Linked DNA regions of Homo sapiens: region 2 is linked to region 1. The links are contacts of gene promoters, found by promoter capture Hi-C in blood cells and fetal thymus (Javierre and others, 2016). All regions are on one chromosome and are shown on one strand. The core of a region is centred on a gene start or on the middle of the fragment in contact, and the rest is flanking DNA. Distances in the headings are between cores, read along the strand shown. Region 1 holds the start of RNF38 (ring finger protein 38). Region 2 holds the start of GRHPR (glyoxylate and hydroxypyruvate reductase).

Region 1 (5,983 bases), core at 1,752-4,251:
ACTGTAATAGATTTTTGCTGCTGAGTTCAGCACTTGAGGAATCTGCCTCTCTTACAGTTAGATAGCTCCCAAATGTAACTTCCCTTTCCTTTCCTGATGTTCTTCTCCCCTTTCCCCTCTCTTCACATAGTCCTATCCAAGCTTGGAGGAAAAGCTACTTCAGGGTGGTCTGCGTTCTGTAGGGAGGATTTTTTTTTTTTTTTTTAAGCTTAGATTCTGGTGGAAGATCTGTAATTGGAAGGCGAATCCACAGTAGATTGCGATTTGTGAGGGATACAGAGGATAGAAAATAGGATACATTGGATAAACTTAAAGGTATGGTTGGCACTTTACCTTGAAGTGAAACAAACAAACAAAAAAAACAAGTTTAGATGTGATCATCTCCAAACTGGCTGCTTTGGGAGAGAGCCAGCCAGCTGGTTAACTGGGTTACATAATTCGAGTATGGGTTTGGGGTGGATATGTTCATAGGGACCTAATACCTCTTTCCAGCTTCTCTTTGTTTGTCCTGGAATTCCAAAACCTATGATGTTATTGCTGGAACTTTGATTCAGCAGTTGCTAAACACCTTCTCTTGTGTTTCTGGCACTAGACTTGGGCCTTGGGTTTAGTTTACACAGTCCCAACAGAGTCTGGGTGCTCAGTCTGATATGGGAGACAAGTGTACATAAATAATTACCATATAGTGTTGTTCATAAAGAGAATGTCCAAGGTCCAGAAGGTCCTGAAACAACATTTACTCTGATTTCCCCCATTTTCTACTGGTTGCAGCTGAGGCCCAGAGAGGGAAAGAGAGACTGGTTTAAGTAATGCCAAAAGAACTAGAACTTGAAAACCCGAGTTTTCTGTTGACTGGTCCTTAATAATTTTACTCTACCACCCTAAAATATGATCACCATCCTTGCGGGAAACATCTAATTTCTGCTTTAAAAAGTCCACCCCTTCCATGATGTCCTCTTGACTGCCCTCTCTCCTTAAGTCTGATACCACTTTACTATTTTTTCCTTGTATGGATTGTGCTTTTGTGGAAATTTTTATTTTCTCTCTTGTATCGTGATTATCAGGACAGGAGCCAAGCCGGCTTCAATCTTTGTTCTTATTTCCCCTCCCCAAGCGACATCTGAGCAACTGTCACACTTAAGGAAGCCTCGGACAAGTTGGGTTCGAACCTGTTGGCTTGCTGCATTGAGAGACACCTTTGTGTACTGCAATAAAAATTCTTACTTTTCGGGCCACGTGAATGCATTTATGCTGTAAGAACTACGTGAGGTCAGTTACTGTTTGATTGCGGAGTTTTGTAGGTAGGAGGCACGGAACAGTAGCAACAATTTACTAAGAGAAAATCTATAGGAATTGGAACAGGGCCCTGCGGTCCGCAGGGCAGCGGGGGGCGGGCTGGGGCGGGGCTGCGCAGTGGTGCTGCGCGCGGAGCTCTGTTGCCGGAACTGGTCCGAGTCGTGCGCCGGGCCGCGCGCAGCCCCGCCCCGCCCCGCCCCGCCCCCTTCCCCCTCGGGGTGGAAACAAAGGGGGTTCGGCGCGCGGTGCGGAGCCTGGGGGAAAAGGGAGGAGCGCTCCGGTGGTCTGGCGCGCTGGGCTCGCTAGGTTTGTGCTGGCGAGGGGACGGGGTGGGACGGGCGACCCGGACCCAAGAAGTGGGAGGACCGCGCGTGTCGCGGCCTAGCGGCGAGGGGAGTCGCCTGCGCGCGCAGCGGAGGCCAGTGCGCCGGCGCATAGGGAGCCCGGGTCTGTGATCGCCGAGGCGGGGTGAGGCGGGGTGCGGCGGGGCGCGGCGGGGCGGGGAGGGGCGTGGCCGGGCCGGGCCCCTAGTGCGGTGTTGCGGGACGGGGCCGAGGCCCGGTCGGTTGGGGCGTGGGGGCGGAGAGGATGGAGCCTCCGAGGCGTTAGGCGACTCTGTCATCTCTGGGCGTGCAGCCGTCGTTTCCTGGCGCGGCCCGTGTGATGGTGCCGGGAGGAAGGAAGCGCAGTGACAGTGCCTAAGTTGGAGCCGGGGTTCCGGGGGTGAGGAGGCCCGCGGACGGCGGATCTGGCGAGCTGGCCGCGGGCTGGGCGAGCAGTCACAATAGGAGGCGGCGGCCCAGCGAGGATCCGCGGGAGCTGCCCGGCAGGGCGGAGCCTCCCCTCGCAGGTACTGGCCGCCGCGGCCGTTGGCTGCAGCGCGAGGGCGGGACGGGCTGCGGGCCGTTGAGAGCCTGCGGGGCCGCGCCCGAGTCTTGGGCTAAGGTTTGCCTCGGCCGCCCGGCGCTCTTTGTTCCCGCGGTGGCGAGGAGGCGCGGTCTCAGCTCGCGGAGCCGCCGGCCCGCTGCCCGGCAGATGGCCTCGCTCTCTCGCTCCCTCCCTTTTTGCCGAGACGCAGGTGAAATGATGTCACCCAGGAGAACGCGGAACCCGGTCGAAAGGGTCCTCTCTGGCGTCCTTCTGCTTCCGTGGGTTTCTGGATAGGCTGCGTTTTGTTCTCAGGGGATGCAAGTTCTTCCTTTCAGGGTTGAAGCGTGAGAGAGGTTGGTTTTTGAAACGGGAGTGTTTCAGGTTATTGAGGTCCAAAAAGAAATAAAGTTTTTGTTTACGTCTGTATGGCTTGTAAGGTAAAGTATTTTTCTTTGTGTTGCAAAAATGATATATGCTATTATTCAGTAAAAGTTGGGTATGCTAATTCTACCGTAAGTAGAAACACACACATGTAATTATTGCCACCATTATATGAATTGCCATTTCTTTTTTCTTAAGCGGTGGACTTAACGTATGAAAACTTAAATGTATACAAAGCTCATAATACAGTTGTTACCTTAGAGTTGCAAGTCTGCTGTATTCTGTTTGGCCTTGATTGCGAGTGTTGTTATACTTGAAAATTTACCGTAAATTTTTTTCAATAGCAAACAAACCTTGTATGTAGGCTTTAAAAAAAATTCCCTTTTATAGGGACAGTTGGAATCGAAGTAAAATTGTTCCTATCTTCAGGGAACACCGTCTAATGGAAGAAATAGAACTTTTGTAGAGATAATACGAAACCACATACATATAGATGTCAGATCAGGTGTGGGAAGCTGGGACACACTTGGAATAAAAAGATGAAATTTCTGACTGGAAGTTTACCTGGGAATTGTGTCACTTCAGATACTCCTTTCTCTGGGGTTTATAAATATATATTTATAATATATTTATTTATAATATGGTATTATATAATATATTATATATATTTATAATATGGTATATTTCACCTTTTGCAAACCTGCTAATCATACATTGTTCATTCAATTTTAAGTTGATTTTTATGATATTTCTGTAAGACTTATTTCTAAGAGATTTGAAGGCCTTAGCGCCTATAGTTGAATAAGTTCTGCCACAGACTCGTCATGTGGGCCTCAGGCTCTCATCTGTAAAATATAAAAAAAGTTGGACTTAAATAATCTGTGGGTTTTCCACCTCTGACTTCGTCTGTGATTCTAGAAGGTAGTTCGTATTTCCATACTTGTTGGGCTTTATATGCCCATCTTGTTTTTATAGTTAAATTGTCAAGTATTACTCTGGGTGAATATTGAGGAGAATTTTCTCTACTAAAATAACCTAATTTTTGATGAAGAGTAAACAAGATGGCATAGTCAGACATAACTGACTGTTAGCATCATAATGTAGAGTGTAGATCTGTTGTCTCTCTGCCAACAGCATTGGATGAGGCTTTTAATTCATGTTACATTCCTAGGCTGTTTCTGTTTGTGCTCACTTTCTTTTTTTGAGGCTGTGAGTGGAAAGTGTGGGTGAGAAATTCTTATGATAAAAGTTTCTGAAATGATTAGGTACTTGCTCAGTATGGAAAGATTATTGGTCAAGATTATGTCTTCTAGTTTATTCCACCTATTTCTCTGTACTACCTCTAGTTTGGTTTAGGCCACCACCATTTTGTAATTCATCTTGCTGGAAAGGTAGTTCTTAATTAGTCTTGATTGTTGCGTTGTGTTTGTTTTGGTTTTCCTGCTAAGAAAACATGTCAGACAGTTTTCACTTCCATTTTACTCTACTTAACTCACAGCCTTTTCTCTGGAAAGAGCGAACAGATTGTAAACATGGATTTGAACAGTATAGTTCTTGTCTAGTTCATCAGCAAACGTTAATTAATACGACGTTATCTAGAGGAGATAAAGCATTAATACTTGAACTCTATATAGTAAATTAATGAGAGAAATTTAGAATAAACAGATGAAGAAGAGGGGTCATGTACACAGTCTCTTCCCAACTCTTACATCTTTCATTAAAAAAATTTTTTTTTAATTTTAGTTTTTCCAGAAACGGGTTTTGCTATGTTGTCCCTTCTGGACTCGAACTTCTGGGCCCAGGTGATCCTCCTTTCTTGGCCTCCTGAGTAACTAGGACTACAGGTGTTTGCCATGGAGCCTGCCTGCCTTAGATCTTTCCCTTTGTTAAGGATCTGAACTTTTCACCTCTTCTATCTAGGTTATGGAGCCCTATTATCTTCTTGTAGTTCCTGTTATTAATTGTCCCTCACTAGACTGAGTTGCTTTAAGGGTAAGGACTGTTTCTTTTTCCCATTTTGTAGTCACAGCATCCAGCATATGGCAGGCAAGCAATAATTATTTGAATTATGATTGTTATTTAATAAAATTATAACTCAATCATACCTCTTTTTTCCAACTATTGTAAAACCCACAATTATTGTGTAAGTAATTATATGTGTGTGCGCCGTGTGTGTGTTTGGAGAGAGGGAGAGGGAGAGAGTGTATAAAATTTTTTATTGGTTTGGACTTTTGTGGTCTAGATATTTTTTCACATCTGTGTAATTCTTTGTGGTAACCAACCTAAGTAAAACGATTTTAGACATACTTCTTTGAGGGGAGAAAAATCTTTGTGTAGGCAAATTTAGATTTTGGAAGGGAAGGAAAGAAAAGTTTATTTAAAATATGTAACTCTTATTTTTCCTACCCTTTATTTCTGCATTCTCTGTGTAATGGATAGAGGATTTCTTTCGTTGCATCTGTTTTCTTTTCCCTTTTCCTTCTTTTTCATCACCTTATGGGATTGTGGACTGGGGAAAGGAAGTAGGGGAGCCTTAGGCTGTTTTCACACACCCTATTTCTGCTGTGCTCTCAGAAAGAGATGGGTCCTGTTTGTTTGCCTAACTCAAGAGTGGGAACCATAATTTCTGTTTAGAAATGATTGTCCGGTGCTGGGCAGTAATGAACATCCTCACCCACATAGTACCAGTCCTTGAATGGTTTCTCCTAATACTGCCTATTAGCTTTTCAAAATTATTTTTAAATTATTTTTTAGCTCACGCCTGTAATCCCAGCACTTTGGGAGGCCGAGGTTGGTGGATCACCTGAGGTCAGGAGTTTGAAACCAGCCTGAATAATATGATGAAATCCTGTCTCTACTAAAAATAAAAAAATTAGTCGGGTGTGGTGACCAGCACCTGTAATCCGCTACTCTGGAGGCTGAAGCAGGAGAATTGCTTGAACCCAGGAGGTGAAGACTGCAGTGAGTCAGGATTGTGCGAGTCAGGATTGCGCCACTGCACTCCACCCTGGGCAACAAGAGCAAAGCTCTGTCTCAAAAAAAAAAAAACAAAACATATATATATATATATACACACACACATATATATACGTATATATACATGTGTATATACGTATATACGTATATACACACACACACACATATATAAAGCAAATTGTGACCGTTGTGTAGTGAGAGAATGATTTTTTTTTTATTCCTTTCAGTCTTTTTCATGTGTCATTTGTGTATGAGAACTGTTGAAGCTTAGAGATGAATGACTTAGAAATTTTGTCTTGGATCTCAAAGGGTAGTAACATCTCAGAGGGTCAGTTCTACCCAGTGTTTGGACCTCAGTTTTCCAGAACCAGGCTCTCGATTTTTTTTTTTAAAGAAGCTTTATTAAGTTATGTTTTATATACCATAAAATTCACTCCATTCAATTAGATTTTTTTGGTTA
Region 2 (5,846 bases), core at 83-2,582, 1.0 Mb before region 1:
CATTGGAAACACAAACCTGATCAAATGCAGTGATCAGACAGCAGTCAGACACTTCTGAGTACAAGCCCCAGCTCCTCCACCTGGGAGCTGCATGGCTTTGGGAAGAAACTTAACCCTAAGTCCAGCCTCCAGTTTTTAATCTGTGCAATGGGAATTATAATACTGACTTCACAGTGCTACCAGGATTAAAAGTTTATGTATATGAAGCACCTGGCAAGGTTGGCCCACAAAAAGGGTTCCATTTAGCAAGGGTGGGCCAGGTGCAGTGGTTCATGCCTGTAATCCCAGCACTTTGGGAGGCTGAGGTGGGAGGATCCCTTCGTACAGGAGTTCAGGACCAGCCTGGGCAACACAGTGAGACCCTCGTCTTTGAAAAAAATAAAAAATTAGCCAGGCATGGTAGTGCATGCCTGTAGTAGTCCCAGCTACTTGGGAGGCTGAGGTGGAAGTATCTCTTGAGTCCAGGAGGTTGAGGCTGCAGTGAGGTATAATGGTGCCACTGCACTCCAGCCTGGATGAGAGTGAGACCCTGTCTTAAAAATTAAAGGGTCCTCAGGCCAGTCATGGTGACTAACACCTGTAATCCCAACACTTTGGGAGGCTGAGGCAAGAGGATTGCTTGAGCCCAGGAATTTGAGACCAGCCTGAGCAACAGAGTGAGACCCCCATCTCTACAAAAAAAAAATCAGAAAATTAGCCGGTAGTGATTGTTTGCGCCTGTAGTCCCAGCTACTCGGGAGGCTCAGGTGGGAGAACTGATTGGGCCCAAGAAGTCGAGGCTGCAGTAAGCCACGATCGATCGAGCCACTGCACTCCAGCCTGTGCAGCAGAGTGAGACTGTCTCAAAAAAAAAAAAAAAAAGATAAGTAAATATAAAGAAGAAGAGTCATCAAAGCCCCCTGCCAAACGTCCAAGGGCCTGGTCAGTGACCGCCATGTCCCTGACCCCACATGTCCTGTGGGAGCGTGGAGAATTAGCCTGGACCTTGCCTCAGGGGCAATCTCCCCTCTCCAAAGCCGGAACTGCAGGTCCCAGCGTCGTCTTAAGAGGAGAACTGGGCCCCAGAGAACTTTCTCCGAGACTCCCCAAAACTCCAAGCCTGCCCCAGCCGGCCACAAGGCCCAAACGCCCCGCCCGGCTCTCCGGTCCCTGGGACCGCCCTGCTCCCTCCTCCACGGCGCGCGAGGCTCTTACTCTGCCGCCCGGGCGAGCGCGACCCTACCCTCGGCGGGTATCCTGCGGGTGACGAACACCTTCATGAGTCGCACCGGTCTCATCCGCAGTGCAGCCGCCGACCCGGACCTGGCAGTACAGAAGCTGGCCCGGGAATGTAGCTGGGCCGGGGCGGGGCCAGGCTGGAGTGGGCGGGAGAGACGTCGCGCGCGGCGTGCGCAGGGGGTGTGGCTTCGCGAGAGGGAGCGCCGGGTTGCGGCTGAGCGGTGACTGTGCGTGCTCGGGGAGTGACAGTAACAGTGACCCTACACAGTGTCCTTGTGTGTGTGTGGGGGGGTGCGCCTCGTGCCACTGGGGAATCAGGGCCCCGGGGGAGAGGGGGCAGTATCCCGTCCAAGGCCTCATGGGAGCCCTGCTTTTTCTACACGCTCAGGGTCCTGTTTCCACAGGCTCAGGCCTTAAGAGACTGAAAGCCCCCACTTTTTCTGTCTCTTGGGTTGGCCCAGGGTAGAAACCCAGGTTCCAGGCTGTGAGGAAGTCCAGGACACACAGAGAGGTCACGTGTAGGTGTTCAGGCCAACAGCACAGCCAGGGGCCCGGCTCACAGCCACCGTCAATGACCAGAGGTATGAGTGAGGAAGCCTTCGGGTGACTCCAGGCCAACTCCCACCTGACTACAGCTAAAACTGCAAGAAAGAGCCTTTAGGAGAATCACTGGCTGAGCCCAGTCAACCCCGGAACCATAAGAGATGATAATGCACTGACTGCTGTTGCTCTAAGCCGTTCAATTTTGGAGTAATTCTTTATGCAGCAATAAATAAGTGATACGCTATGTGTGCGAAAGCCAGAAGCCATAAGAGTACAACTAATTCTCCATTGAAAAATTAACCGTACCATCCTGAATGCATCTGATCTTGGAAACTAAGCCTGGTTAGGGCTTGTATGGGAGACTGCCTGGAAATACCAGGTGCCTGGAAATACCAGGCTTATGTTTATCTTAAAAAAAAAAAATTAACAAAATCATAAGACAACAAACCGGGAAAAATACCATATATTTGCAACTCATTTTATAGACAAGGGGTTGATTTACTTATTGCACAAATAGTTCCTAAGACAAAGATGCCCAGCTTATCTGAATAAGCAAAGGATATCAATGGACAGTTTATAGAAAAGAAAATGGCCTTTAAATGTATGGCTGGGCGCGGTGGCTCATGCCTGTAATCCCAGCACTTTCGGAGGCCGAGGCAGGCGGATCACTTGAGGTCAGAAGTTTGAGACCAGCCTGGCCAACATGGTGAAACTCTGTCTGTACTGAATATACAAACATTAGGTGGGCATGGTGGCACATGCCTGTAATTCCAGCTACTCAGGAGGCTGAGGCAGGAGAATTGCTCATGAGTCCAGGAGATGGAGGTTGCAGTGAGCCGAGATCCCATCACTACACTCCAGCCTGGGTGACAGAGTGAGACTCCATCTAAAACAAAAAAAAACAAAACAAACAAAAAAAAAAAACAAAAGATGAAAAGTGCTCAACTTGACTCACAAAAGAACTGCATATTAAAATTACAGCAAGATACCAATGTAAAAAATAATACATTGGGGAACCAGGTGCTTTCATACGTTGCTGGTAGGAGTGTAAATCAGCAACTTCAATAAGAAAGTTTGGCAGTAGCTATCAAAGTTTAGACTGCACATCTTTTTTGACCCAGAAATTTTGCTTTTAGGAATTTACCTTACAGACGCGTTCACACATGTGCAAAATGCCATCTGCCAAAGGCTCTTCATTGTGGCATTGTTGGAATAGTAAAATATGGGAAACAACCTAAAGGTCCACTCATAGGGGACTGTTCATTACGTATGCTTCATTCCCACAGTGAAATACTCTGCATCAATCAAAAGAGTGAGGCAGCTCTGTGCGTACCAGTGTGGAATGATCTCCAAGATGTACTGTCCAGTGAGAAAACAGGGTGATGCAAAGTGCATATGTTACCATTTATAGGAGAAAGTATATGCCTATTCTTTTTTTTTTTTTTTTTTTTTTTTTTTTGAGACAGGATCTCAGTCTGTTATCTAGGCTGGAGGGCAATGGTGCAATCTTGGCTCACTGCAACCTCTACCTCCTGTGCTCCAATGATCCTCCCGCCTCAGCCTCCTGAGCAGCTGGGACCACAGGCATGTGCCACCACACCCAGCTAATGTTTTGTATTTTTTGTAGAGACAGGGTTTCATTATGTTGACCGGGCTTGTCTCGAACACCTGGGCTCAAAGCGATCCACTTCCAAAGTTCTGGGATTACAGGCGTGAGCCACGACACCTGGCCACCTATTTCTGTGTGTTAAATATCCCTGGAAAGATGTACAAGAAACATCTTTCTTGTTTCTTTGGGAACAGGCCAGGTGCAGTGGCTCATGGTTTGTAATTCCAGCACTTTGGGAGGCTGAGTCAGGAGCATTGCTTGAGCCCAGGAGTTTGAGACAAGCCTGGGCAACATAGCGAGACCCTGTCTCTACAAAAAAAAATTTTTTTTTAATTACCCAGGCGTAGTGGTGTACACCTGTAGTCCCAGTTACTTGGGAAACTGAAGTAGGAAGATTGCTTGAGCCTGGGAGGCTGGGGCTGCAGTGAACTGTGATTGTGCCACTGCACTCCAGCCTGGGCAACAGAGTGAGTGAGACCCTGTCTCTAACAAAAAAAAAAAAAAAAAAAGAAAAAGAAAAAAGAAGAAACTGGGGACAGTGGCTGCCTCTGGGGAGAAGACCTGGTGAACTGGGACAGAGTAAGAGAGACACAATTTTCACCCTTTGGGAATTTGCATCTTGTGCATTTATTATCTACCCTCAAAATAAAGAAAACATTCATTTAAAAATAGCACTTGGCCAGGCGCGGTGGCTCACGCCTGTAATCCCAGCACTTTGGGAGGCTGAGGCGGGTGGATCACCTGAGCTTAGGAGTTCGAGACCAGCCTGGCCAACATGGTAAAGCCCCGTCTCTACTAAAAATACAAAAAAATTAGCCAGGCTTGGTGGCAGGTGCCCATAATCCAAACTACTCAGGAGGCTGAGGCAGGAAATTGCTTGAACCCAGGGGGTGGAGGTTGCAGTGAGCCAAGATCACGCCACTTTACTCCAGCCTGGGCGACAGAGCGAGACTCTGTCTCAAAAGAAAACAAAAGACAAACAAACAAAAAAACTCCGTCTCAAAAATAAATAAATAAAATAAAATAAATAAAAATAGCATTTGGCCAGGTTTGGTGGCTGATTCCTGTAATCCCAGCACTTTGGGAGGCTAAAGCTGGAGGACTGCTTGAGGTCAGGAGTTCAAGACCAGCATGGGCAATATAGGGAGGCTCCCCCACCCTGTCTTTACAGAAAAATTTAAAAGTTAGCTGGTTGTGGTGGCTGAGTCCCGGAAGGCGGAGGCCGGAGTATCACTTCAGCCCAGGAGTTCAAGGTTACAGTAAGCTATGATTGCACCCCTGCACTCCAGCCTGGGCAACAGAGTAAGACTCTGTCTCAATAATAATAATAGTAATAGTCTCTAAAACACTTCTTTTCTTGCTGTCATTTTGAATCCTTGCACACTAAATATCAATTCCCCTGCCTTAGCTGTGGCCTTGCCCCTTCATCGCTCAGGTGTCTCCCAGGCTGCGCTTCTACGCTGATGACTCTGGAGTGAGCAGCTCCAGCCCCCATCACCCAGCTTCAGAGCCATAAGCCGCCTCTCTCCTGCCTCCTCCACCTGAGCATCCTCAGGTATCTGGAACTCAACACCTGCCAAACCCAATTCATCCACCTTCTCCCCAATACCTCACCTGACACCTGCGCTCCTCCCACATATCCATCAAAGGGACAGCCACCCCAAGCCAATACCTAGAAGTCACCCCTCACTCATGTATTTCACCCCTCCCACTCCACAGGCTTGTATTGTGGTTGAGAGCTTGGGTCTGGAGCCAGGGTGCTGGGTGTGAATCCAAGCTCGGCCTCTTGGTAATGGTGTGACTTAAGCAAATGACTTCATCTTTCTTGCCTGCAGCTTCCTGTCTGTAGACTGGGGAGAGCAACATATGCACCCCACAGATACTGAAACATGGAAACGTTAGTGAGTGACCATGTCCAGTGCTCAGGGCAGTGTCTGGAACTAACTAAGAGCTCCCGAAATGCCAGCTACTTATTATGATGACTGGTTTTACCCAATGAAGCCCAGGTCAGGCCTCCTCTGCTTAGCAGATCCCTCTTCCTGTGCCCTCAGCTGGCTCTGTTCCTACCACCCAGTAGCACTTATTGAGCCCCAGCTGTGTGCATTGCTTTGGGGGAGGGGACCCATTAACCTTCCGTGTCCCCTCCTGGCCCTGGTGGACAGGTTTCTCCCATGCCCAATGCCCTTGTTTGTACTTGTGTGTAGGAGGAGCTGGGCTCAGGATTAACAGAGAACACTCACTGGTTAACAGAGGCCGAAGGGCCTGGCCTGGGGACAGAAAAACACCTCTTTTTGTCAATGTTTGATGTGTTTCAGAAATGTTCCCTGGCCTGGGAACACAGATAATGGCCTGAGGGTAAGACACTTATTAATGTGTTACTTAAGAGAGGGAGGTAGCAGGGTGGAGCTGTGGCCGGGATCCAGGTGGCCCAGGGACTTGCTGTGTGATCTTCAGCGGGTGATGTCACCTCTCTGTG

Evidence for each region. Contacts are between HindIII fragments. The CHiCAGO score rates a contact against its expected background, and 5 or more counts as called.
Region 2: a contact is called between the fragment with the promoter of GRHPR here and a fragment that was not itself captured in region 1, in 1 of 17 cell types (neutrophils). The highest score is 5.7, in neutrophils.

Annotation. Positions count from the first base shown.
Region 1 is chr9:36,396,717-36,402,699 of GRCh38, reverse strand. RNF38 (ring finger protein 38) reads left to right here and starts at 2,431. Exons shown (of 12, transcript NM_022781.5): 1 at 2,431-2,603. The coding sequence starts at 2,592. It overlaps LOC124902152 (a long non-coding RNA gene), which reads left to right. Exons shown (of 2, transcript XR_007061475.1): 1 at 1-806; 2 at 1,115-1,235. RefSeq lists silencers at 1,372-1,831, 1,862-2,191 and an enhancer at 2,402-2,471. The HindIII fragment of the contact is 5,581 bases long and covers 211-5,791 here.
Region 2 is chr9:37,418,182-37,424,027 of GRCh38, reverse strand. It overlaps GRHPR (glyoxylate and hydroxypyruvate reductase), which reads right to left and starts at 1,332. Exons shown (of 9, transcript NM_012203.2): 1 at 1,195-1,332. The coding sequence starts at 1,277. It overlaps LOC105376035 (a long non-coding RNA gene), which reads right to left. Exons shown (of 4, transcript XR_007061479.1): 4 at 4,520-5,846. RefSeq lists enhancers at 735-1,360, 1,361-1,986 and a silencer at 1,371-1,520. The HindIII fragment of the contact is 7,938 bases long and covers 1-5,846 here.